3 separate regions of the Homo sapiens genome follow, and regions 1 and 3 are each linked to region 2. Evidence: promoter capture Hi-C in 16 types of primary human blood cells and fetal thymus (Javierre and others, 2016). All regions are on one chromosome and are shown on one strand. Each heading gives the region's core, a stretch centred on a gene start or on the middle of the fragment in contact. The rest is flanking DNA. Distances are from core to core; before and after follow the strand shown.

What was found. Contacts are between HindIII fragments. The CHiCAGO score rates a contact against its expected background, and 5 or more counts as called.
Region 1: a fragment that was not itself captured here is called in contact with the fragment with the promoter of CIDEB in region 2 in 5 of 17 cell types (naive CD8 T cells, erythroblasts, total CD4 T cells and 2 more); the score reaches 7.0 in naive CD8 T cells.
Region 3: a contact is called between the fragment with the promoter of TINF2 here and the fragment with the promoter of CIDEB in region 2, in 7 of 17 cell types (total CD8 T cells, neutrophils, naive CD4 T cells and 4 more). The highest score is 7.3, in total CD8 T cells.

What each region holds. Positions count from the first base shown.
Region 1 is chr14:24,400,432-24,403,713 of GRCh38, forward strand. All of the region lies in intron 2 of NYNRIN (NYN domain and retroviral integrase containing), which reads left to right. Among named protein-coding and RNA genes, the nearest start is that of NYNRIN, 3.1 kb to the left of the region's middle. The HindIII fragment of the contact is 4,166 bases long and covers 1-3,282 here.
Region 2 is chr14:24,305,983-24,309,393 of GRCh38, forward strand. CIDEB (cell death inducing DFFA like effector b) reads right to left here and starts at 1,995. Exons shown (of 5, transcript NM_001393339.1): 1 at 1,836-1,995; 2 at 1,389-1,533; 3 at 392-541; 4 at 1-155. The coding sequence starts at 1,876. NOP9 (NOP9 nucleolar protein) reads left to right here. Exons shown (of 10, transcript NM_174913.3): 10 at 1-3,142. The HindIII fragment of the contact is 15,090 bases long and covers 1-3,411 here.
Region 3 is chr14:24,241,373-24,244,487 of GRCh38, forward strand. It overlaps TINF2 (TERF1 interacting nuclear factor 2), which reads right to left and starts at 1,251. Exons shown (of 9, transcript NM_001099274.3): 1 at 769-1,251; 2 at 518-622; 3 at 303-404. The coding sequence starts at 960. RefSeq lists enhancers at 1-19, 680-899, 970-1,229, 1,400-1,699 and a silencer at 1,891-2,185. The HindIII fragment of the contact is 13,864 bases long and covers 1-3,115 here.

The DNA.
Region 1 (3,282 bases), core at 694-3,193, 94 kb after region 2:
ACACCTACTGCAGATGGGTTTATACCTATATCTTAATTGGTCAAGGCCATGGGTGGGGAGGCCCAGAACTCGGCCAGCCAGCCTGGTAGGCAGGCAGGCTGGGAAGTTCCTCCCTCAACCCCTCTGTGGAGCTGCTAGGTCAGCAGTTTTTCCAATTTTGACAGAGGTGCTAGGAGGGGGAAGGGGTGTCTTCCCAAAGAACATATGTACTGGAGGCCTTGAGAGGAAGACATTTAGAAGCCGGGGTAGGGTAGGCTAACAAGAGGAGTGTTTTGGGTTCTTTGGGTTCTTAATCTTTTTGTTACTTTGAAAGGCAGCAGCTCACCCTCTTAGGGGACTCACACTTTCTTTTTCTTTTTTTTTTTTTTTTGAGATGAAGTTTCACTCTGTTGCCCAGGCTGGAGTGCAATGGCGTGGTCTTGGCTCACTGCAGCCTCCACCTCTGCCTCTTGTGTTCAAGTGATTCTCCTGCCTCAGCCTTCTGAGTAGCTGGGATTACAGGCACGTGCCACCATGCCCAGCTAATTTTTGTATTTTAGTAGAGATGAGGTTTCACCATGTTGGCCAGGTTGGTCTTGAACTCCTGGCCTCAGGTGATCCACCCGCCTTGGCCTCCCAAAGTGCTGGGATTACAGGCATGAACCACTGTGCCGGGCCAGGACTCACACTTTCGGAGGTACCCCCGCCACCCCCTCCTTGCTCAAATCCTGGATTGGCTTCTCCAGGCCTACCTGCTCCGTCTCCCTCTGCTGCTTCAGGGTTCTTCGGACCGCAGATCTCACACCTCAGGCTCCCACTGTAGGCCCAGCTAATGGAATCAGTGGCTCCCTTGATTCCTAGCCCTGTTCCTCCACTCCCCCTTTGTCTTCCCTTTGGGAAAGGCATTGTTGAAAAGTGGGAACCCAGCGTGAGGGGATTCTGGGTAGCTCCCTGCCTTATTTTACACAATGACCATAAAGGAGACTTTGTTGGCAATTTGGAGAAGGAGGACAGGGAAGGTGAGGGGCGGGGGGGGTTAAAGTTTTGTCTCAGGGGTTAGGGGATCTGGGTTTGATATGCTGTCACCAAGTTACAACCAAGATAGGAGGGGTATGGTGAGGAGAGTTTGAGACTGGGGTTTGCTACCTGTTAACTATCTGAACTGGGTGATCAGATCAAATAATTTATCCTCTCTTGAGCCATTTCCCTCATCTATGGAACAGACTATAATAATACCTGGTTCATGAAGAGTTTGTGAGAGTCTGCTGAAATCATGCATGTTACAATACTGTTATAAAATGTGGAGAGCTATAGAGTATAGATGTTAGCTACTATTGTTTTTGACTAGCTGCGTAACTTTGAGCAAGTCCTTTTCCCTCTCTGAGTCTCGATCTCCCTGTTTGTAAAGTGGAAGTCTTGGATTAAATGCTGTCTGAGGTCCAGCGATCTGACACATGAACATTTCCCAAGTGTAAGGATGTCTTGTGGTTCTCATAGGGAGGCAGCGTGGCTGGCCCCAATCTCAGCTGTAGGGACACAGAATCATGCACTTTGTTAGTGGCATACTGAACATAGGCCAACAGGCAGAGAGGACTCTGGGAGACTACAGGTTGCAGGACTGGGGGAGGGCTGATGGTGAGGGTGGCTTGTTGGGGTCTGAGGGGAGGAGGGGTCGAGAAGGATACAGGCTCATCTAGAGAAGGGCCTGAGTGTGTTTCTATGTGGTTGGTTTCTCAGGAAAATCTCTGTAAATCTTGAGTGCTTTAAAATTGTTTTGTTGTGGTGGGATTAAAGAACACTGAAGACATTACTGTGAAACACATACCCAGGCAGCAAAACAAACACTGGGGAGGCCTCTCTGAGGTGAAATCAGTGAGTGGAGAGGCGGGTTTTAGTAATGATCAGAAGAGGCCCGGGACAAGCCCTGCTCCACCCTTCTCCCCTTTGGCAGTGAGGTGAGGATGGGGTGGGCGGCAGAGAAGAGAGGTGACCACTGCGGGAGGTGATGGGGAGCCTAAAGGCAGTGGTGGTGGGCAAGAGTACCTTCTGGAGACTGGGTTCTGGAGCTCTGGGACAGGGTGTGGCCTGCTGACATCTGGCTTGGCTGTCAGATGGAAGTTGAACTATCTTTGCTGCACACTAACTGTGAGCAGTACCCTGAGAGTTGGTTGCGGTCAGTGCCTGGAGTTGGCTCCTATGGACCCACTGTTAAAATTTCGGGAATTGTGCAAGTGAGTGGAGGAGTATTTACAGCCATGGTGGGAGTATTTATGCCACAGAAATTGGCAAATGCGACAAATCAAGGTTACCCCCCACCCCCAGCTGATTGTTAAACATTTACCAGGACACCTGCTTGTGTTGTGGGCACTGAATACTTCTTTTTCTTTAAACTTAAATTTTCTTTTATCAAAGTAATACACATTTGAAAAGTCCAATTTTACCAAAAGGCTTAGAAGAGCACACAGAGGTTCCCTGCCCCGGCCCTCCCAATTCCTCCTTCAGTAACCATCCCCACTGACAGTATTTGCTCTGGCATTTACGCATCTCCACATTTCTAAAAGAATATGTAGACACTATTGTCTTTTAATTAATTGACGTTTGCTGCTATCTTTTTTTGGTCCCATTATCGTATGTGAGGATTGAGCTCCCTTTCACGGCCAGCCCCTCTTCTCAAGATAGTTCTGTTTCAATTACCTGCTAAATCTACGTTTAGCATTGCCTCATTATGCCTTGCACATAGCGTTCACATCGAAGCACTGAAGTGTACTATGATTTTGTTTTCTTTCTTACTTTTTGGGTTTTACTGAGGTCATTGAGGTTAAGCACTCCTTGTTTTTCAATTTGCCTTTCTTTGTACCTATTGTTAATTCTTACCACTTCCAGTAGCCTCTCAGTACAGTTTTCTACAAGGTCAGTCTATCAGTTCAAGGTGTTCTTTTGGTTCTAAATTTTTTCTTGGCGCCGTCTCTCCTGTCTGGTCAGTTGCTTTCCAGGCTGACACAGCTGTCGTTCTTGGCATCCTTTGCCTTTTTTCTTTGCTAGATACTCATGTCCTGGACCTTGAAACTTTTTCTTTCTTGGGTTGATGGAACACATCCCTCTGTAGCCTCAAGTTAAAAAGATGGTGCAGCAGCAAAGTGTATGCAGATGCCTGCTTTCAACATGCCTGTCTCTTGAGTCATACCCTCCAATCTGAACTAGCTGTCCTGTGTAATGACCATTGTCACCCTAAAACAGTGCCTGGCATGTAGTCAAGAATTATTTGTCGAATGGATGAATAAATTCTGAGATTTCTCTTCACCG
Region 2 (3,411 bases), core at 745-3,244:
CAACTCATAGAGTAGAGCCCGTAGAATGTGGCTTTGACATTCAGGCTGCCAAAGAGGTCTCGAGGGTTTTGCTTGTACACGTCAAAGGTGAATCGGGCGATGTCCTTGCTGTGCTTGGGCCTCTCCCGTCCCAGGCCATATGACAGCACTCCACTCTGTAGGACACCCTTGTCAGTGCAGTAGATCCTCATACCAGACACCCACCACTAATCTCCATCAGCACTGGGTCAGACCCTCCCTCGCTTGGACTTTCTGTCCACTGTGTGACATCCTTGACAATTCCACAACTCCTCCTGCACCTGGTCCCCAGGATCAGGGTTAAGCTAGAGAGGAAGCCCGGGAAAGCTCTAAAGGACAGGCATTGGAAGCAGCCCCAGTATAGGCCTCTTACCCTTGTAGGGCTCCAGCTCTGACCAGACTGCAACACCATCAGGCACGTGTCATCCTCCAGCAGCTGGAAGAAGTCCTCACTGTCCACTGCAGTTCCATCCTCCTCTAGCACCAGGGTTAGCACTCCATTCAGCAGTAGGGTCTCCAATGCCTGCCCAATGGCAAGAAGCAAGAAGGGCAGGTCTTATCCCATGCCCCTTCCCTCTTTAGCTGCCCAACATCCATCAGTTGGCTCTAGACATTGGTCGATGTCCCACTTTGACTTTCCGGCACTTTGATACCTCCTAAAGGTTGCAGCTCTCCGTGTTCTTCAGTTTTTGGGGGATCCTAGCTAGAGGCTGACCTTTTTCCTCTTTGCTCCTACCATGTCATTGGCATCTCCCCTTGCTCCCCTCCAAGTCACTTCTGGTTTGGAATTGGAAAGCAAGCCAGGTTCTCACGAAGTCCACCCTTCTGTCTTATCTACAATGCTGCACCTCACTTCCCACACCCTCAAGAGTTCTCCAGAAGTGTTTTCAGTAATAGTGTTTAACCTTTTTGAGTCCTTACTCTGTGCCAGGTATGAGGACTTTACCTACATTATCCTCTTACTCCTTTCAACAACCCTAGGAGGTGATGTATTATTATTGCCTTTTTATAGTTGAAGAAACTGAGGTTTTGGTAGGTTGAACAACTTCCCAAGGTTTGACAGGCAGGAAGTGGCAGAATCAGAATTTGAACTTGATTTGTCACACAAATCACCTTTCCATACTAGCTTCTGAATTCTGTCCCTCGAACTCTCCCTATCTCCTGCTAACCCCTGCTCCCATAGAAAAGCTCACTCGGTGGAAAATGAACAAATTGACCAGAGCTCATTAGGCCCACTCCGCTGCTTTTAGCCCTCAGAGGGAGGGGCAGCTGTGTGACTTCAGCCCTCTGCTCCATCATCACAAGTTGCCACTGTTGTGGAGCCCCTTGGCTACCCCTGCTATAGGAACCGAGGAACTTGGCCTACTTACTTTGGCTAGCAGCTCCTGGCGGGTGGCAGCTGTCAGGCCTTTCCGGATGGTCCGCTTGTGATCACAGACACGGAAAGGTCGCTGGGGTGGTGGAGCTGAGGTCCAGACCCTCCGTCCAAACTCCGAGCTTATATTAGATACTGACCTGGTAGTTGAGAAGAAAAGTCAAGAAGGGGCGAGGAGGGGCTTGGTGAGTGTAAAGGGCATGATGAGGGTAGAGTGGCTAGAGGGCTAGGGAGGGAGAGATCTAGGTTTATCGATTAGGGATGAGGGAGAGACCATGGAGTGCAGGTGGGGGCGGGTGGCTCAGGAGCTTGACAAGCCCACTGTGGAGTGGGGAGCAGGAGAGGAAGGGGTACTGGTTAGTCTCCTAGGGGCTGAGTGGAGTATTGTTGCCCTGCCTATATCCCCTAAAGGTGGAGGGTAGAGCGGAGGGTTAGCAGTCACCTGAGTAAGTCACTGGGGTTCAGAGCTGAGAGGTACTCCATGGTGGACCGGAGAGTTCCTTCCCTGGAACTTCTGGGCTGGGTGGTTCTCTCCTGTGCTGGGGCTTTAGTGGTGTTTTCTGTTACAAACCTGGGATCTCAGCCCAGGACAAGGTGGGAATGAGTCAAGCCTGGACTCTGGCCCCCCTGCCTGGCCAGTAAGAAGGGCAAAGTCCAAGGGGAGGGATGAGGGAGGGGCCAGATGGGGTCCTGGAGGAAGAATTGCCTGGCAAAAGCCATTGGAGCTTGTATGTGTGTCTTTGGTGATGACATGTGTTGTGAGGGTAGATGGGAACCATGTAAAAGGATGAAATGTGACTTCTGGTGTTTTTTTATTTCTATGGAGGGAATTTCTGGGGACGGTTTCTGGCTCTCAGGCTCTGAGAAGCTGCAGTTTATGAGTGGCTCTGTGTGTGCTGCCACCTACTGGAGAAGCCATAAGCTGCAGCTTTAGGAAAAGGGAACCCGGGGCAGAGTGTGGGGAAGTGGGATGGCAGCATGGCAGGGCTTTGGAAAATGAGAGGTGAGACTGTGTCCAGGAAGGGTGTAAGGAGAGGATGGATCCTGATACATGGATTCAGGATCATTAGGGTCCTGTCTGGGACACTGGCCTTCCTGCTTACCTGCTCTTTCCTTCCTCCTTGGTCGGAGGAGGGGCTGGCTCACTGCTCTGGCTTCATTTTCCAGAGCTGCCTGCTGCAGTCACACTTAGGTCATCTTCTCTCACTTTTCTCCTTTTGCCGATTAGTGGACGTGACAGAGATGTGAATGGGGCAGGGATGTCCTTTGATGGCATCAAGACTTTAGCTTCTGGTGCGCTGTGTCCCAGCTCTGATTTCAGTTGCAGCCGTGATGGACAGTTGCATGGAAGCTGAGACTCTCACTGACAGTGAAACCCTCAAATGAACACAATCCCTGCTTTCCTGCCAAGGATCCTTGTAGGGTCCCCCAGCTTCCCCACTTTTTTTCTGTGTCCTGACAAAGAAACACAGAGTAACTTGATTGCCCTGTGACCTGGCCAGTTGCATTTCCCCTGCAGGCTTGAGCCCAAGCCAGAGCCTTGAAAAGGTATTCAGGTTGTTGCCCAAAACACTGAAAAAAACTGGCCCTGGCCCTGAACCAAATACCTTGAACCCTCGTAAACTCCATACCCTGACCCCCTTGTTTTGGATATACCCAGGTAGAACAACTCTCTCTCACTGTCTGTTGTGAGGATACGCTGTAGCCCACTCATTAAGTACATTCTCCTAATAAATGCTTTGGACTGATCACCCTGCCAGTCTTTTGTCTTGGGCAATCTATACTTTTCTCAGAGGTTCCCAAGGCCTACTGAAGGGACTTAACATACTCTTAATGGCTTTCCTCTCTCTTGTTTTACCTTATGCCCTCACTTCCTGAGTTAACCTCCCAAATACAGGATCACCTGTACCCAAGCCCTTAGCTCAAGAATACAGGATCACCTGTACCCAAGCCCTTAGCTCAAGCTCTGCTTTGGAAGAACCCAAACTAAGACAGTGCTCCTGGTGCCCTCCCCAAGC
Region 3 (3,115 bases), core at 1-2,500, 65 kb before region 2:
TAATCCTGGCCATTTGGGAGGCCGAGGTGGGCGGATCACTTGAGGTCAGGAGTTCGAGACCAGCCTGGCCAACATGGTGAAACCCCATCTCTACTAAAATACAAAAATTAGCTGGGCATTTGTAATCCCAGCTACTCGGGAGGCTGAGGCAGGAGAATCGCTTGAACCCGGGAGGCAGAGGTTGCAGTGAGCCGAGATTGTGCCACTGCACTCCAGCCTGGGCGACAGAGCAAGATTCCTCAAAAAAAAAAAAAAATGGGTTAGAGAAAATAGCCACATAATAGCCTTCAAACCAGTCTCACCTGCAGCTTCGAGGCCAAATCCACAGGAGCCTCTGACAGCTGCTTCACCTGCTGGTAAAAAGTTTCCTGTGCCTCCAAAATCTTCCTCAGATCCTGCTTTGTCTGTTGAGGATACAGAAGACAGAGAAGTTAGCACCAACATCCAGTAGACAGGAGGAGCAACTTTGCTGCACCAAGTGTAACTGGGGTCAGGGCTTGTTCCGGGGATTACTCACAGCCTTGGGATCCCGCACTATAGGTCCAGATTCTGGAAAGTGGTGATTCAGGGCTTTCAGGACTTGGGCCCAAGGCCGGCCCTGCAGGATCAGCTCCACCACCACCTGTACGGTACTGAATTCAGAATCCCCACTTCGGGGCAAGCTGACCTTTTCCAACTAGTCTCATCCCCAAGCTGTGGGCCCTTGTCAGGTGCTCGCATCCCGCCCCTTTCTTTCTTTCCCCTTCCAGGTCCTACTTGCTCCAATACCTTGGCCTTTAGGCCCATACAAAGGCGTTCGTGGTGCCGGTAGCGAACCAAGCCAGGGGCAACAGCGCGCAGAGATCGCAGAAACTCCAGTACTCGCGGAAAATGTTCCACGCAGCGTCCGCGCACAACCTGCCAGCTAGCCGCGGCGGCGAAGCGTAGAGCTGCGGGACCCGCCACCAGGGGCGTAGCCATGGTCGGCGGGCTCCGCCCGGAGGCGGTCCCTCCGGGTTCCTCACCCGGATGGGTGAGGCTTTCCGATCACTCCTAGGGGCGGGGCTTCTGGCAACTCCCTGTCGCTCCGGTCTGTCGGCTCTGGGTACCTCGCGATCTGACTCGGCTCCCTTCCATCGGCCCCCAGAATTCTGGGGGAGGGGGTCTTCTGGCTCGGGCTGGAGGAGCCTGAGTGGAGAAGCTGACCGTCTCCAGTGGCACTGGGTCGCTCAGCTTTAAACGTCGCCGCTGTCTCGAGCCCGAGGGTGCCTCACTTCCGGCTCCGCTACTAGCTTCCCTTGCCCCGGAAAAGGGCGGTAAGAGGGAGCCAATGGGCGGCCACAGAGGGAACCGTGACGGTGCGTCAGAAGGCCACGCCCCAGCGGAGCTGTAGCTGCCCGCTTCCTGCACTCTCTGCCGGCTGACATGAGTTGGCGGCTGAGGCTGTCGTGGCCGCTGAGGCTGTTGTGGCCGTTCGTCTGGGTCCTCCCAGCCTTGCTTTCTTCGCGGAGCCTGCGGAGAAGCCCCGTCACTCCCGTGAGGCTCGACTTCCTAGTCTGTAAAACGAGGATCATGCCACCGCCCTTTCCCACTGTCTTCACCCATCGAAATTTAGTTCTTTAAATTCCAGACCCGAGCCGGCGTCTACAAAGCCTTCCCCTCTGCGCGCGTCGCTTCCAGTAGGAATTCGACTGTTCCTTTTATAAAACAGAAGAGGGCGCCCGCCCTTAAAAAATAAAATACAGGCTGGGCGTGGTGGCTTGTGTCTAATCCCAGCGCTTTGAGAGGCCGAGGCAGGAGGGTCACTTGAGCCCAGGAGCTCCAGACAAGCCTGGGCGACATGGTGAAACCCCTTCTCTGCTAAAAGTACAAAAATTAGCTGGGCGTGGTGGCAGGCGCCTGTAATCCCAGCTACTCGGGAGGCCGAGGCAGGAGAATCGCTTGAACCCAGTAGACGGGAGGTGGCAGTGAGCCGCGATCTTGCCTCTGCATTCCAGCCTGGGCGACAGAGGGAGAATCTCTCTCAAAGAAAAAAAAAAAAAAAAAAAGAGGAAGAAGAAGAAATAGAATACAGGCTGGGGGCACGGTGACTCACACCTGTAATCCCAGCACTCTGAGAGGCCGAGAGGGGAGGATCGATCCGCTTGAGCCCAGGAGTTCCAGACCAGACTGGATCACATGGCGATAACCTGTCTCTACTGAAAATCAAAAAAACTAGCCGGGCGTAGTGGCACGCCTGTAGTCCCAGCTACTCAGGAGGCTGAGTTGGGAGGATTGTTTGAGCCAGGGAGGTTGAGGCTTCAGTGACTGCACTCCAGCCTGAGTGATAGAGTGAGACGGGGTCTCACACACACACACAAATTAGTTTCTTGTTTTAGGATTCTGTTGTGCACTGAACTTGTCAGCCCCCTAATGTAATTGACTGCTCTCCTTGACTGTCTCTTCCACAGGCTTCCTGGTGCCTCTCATTTCCATCAGCAAGCACAGAACCTAACACACAGCTTACACTCCTTAATTGTTGGCTGGATTAGTTGCCTGCCTTGACCACCTTACAAGGATTTAGTGAAACTGCTCCGTCTTTAGCCCATGTCTTCCATTCCCAGAGATAATGGTTCACACATCCTTGTCTCCGCCCCGGATCAGTCTCAGCTGATCCGCACATTCGACTGCCCAAGAAACACCCAGTCCCAAAGTACCCCAAATTGGATATGTGTGAAATTCTAGTTATCTTCCTTTTTCCCTTTATTTATTCCTTCTCTAATGTTCTTTCTTTCTTATGTAGATATGAACTTCTGTTGTTTTACTTTTTTTTTTTTTTGAGACGGAGTCTCGCTCTGTCGCCCAGGCTGAAGTGCAGTGGCGCGATCTCAGCTCACTGCAAGCTCCGCCTCCTGGGTTCACGCCATTCTCCTGCCTCAGCCTCCCGAGTAGCTGGGACTACAGGCGCCCACCACCGCGCCCGGCTTTTTTGTATTTTTAGTAGAGACGGGGTTTCACCGTGGTCTGGATCTCCTGACCTCGTGATCCGCTCGCCTCGGCCTCCCAAAGTGCTGGGATTACAAGGCGTGAGCCACCGCGCTCGGCTCTTTTTTTTTTTTTGAGGTGGGGAGACAGTCTCGCTCTGTTGCTCAGGGTG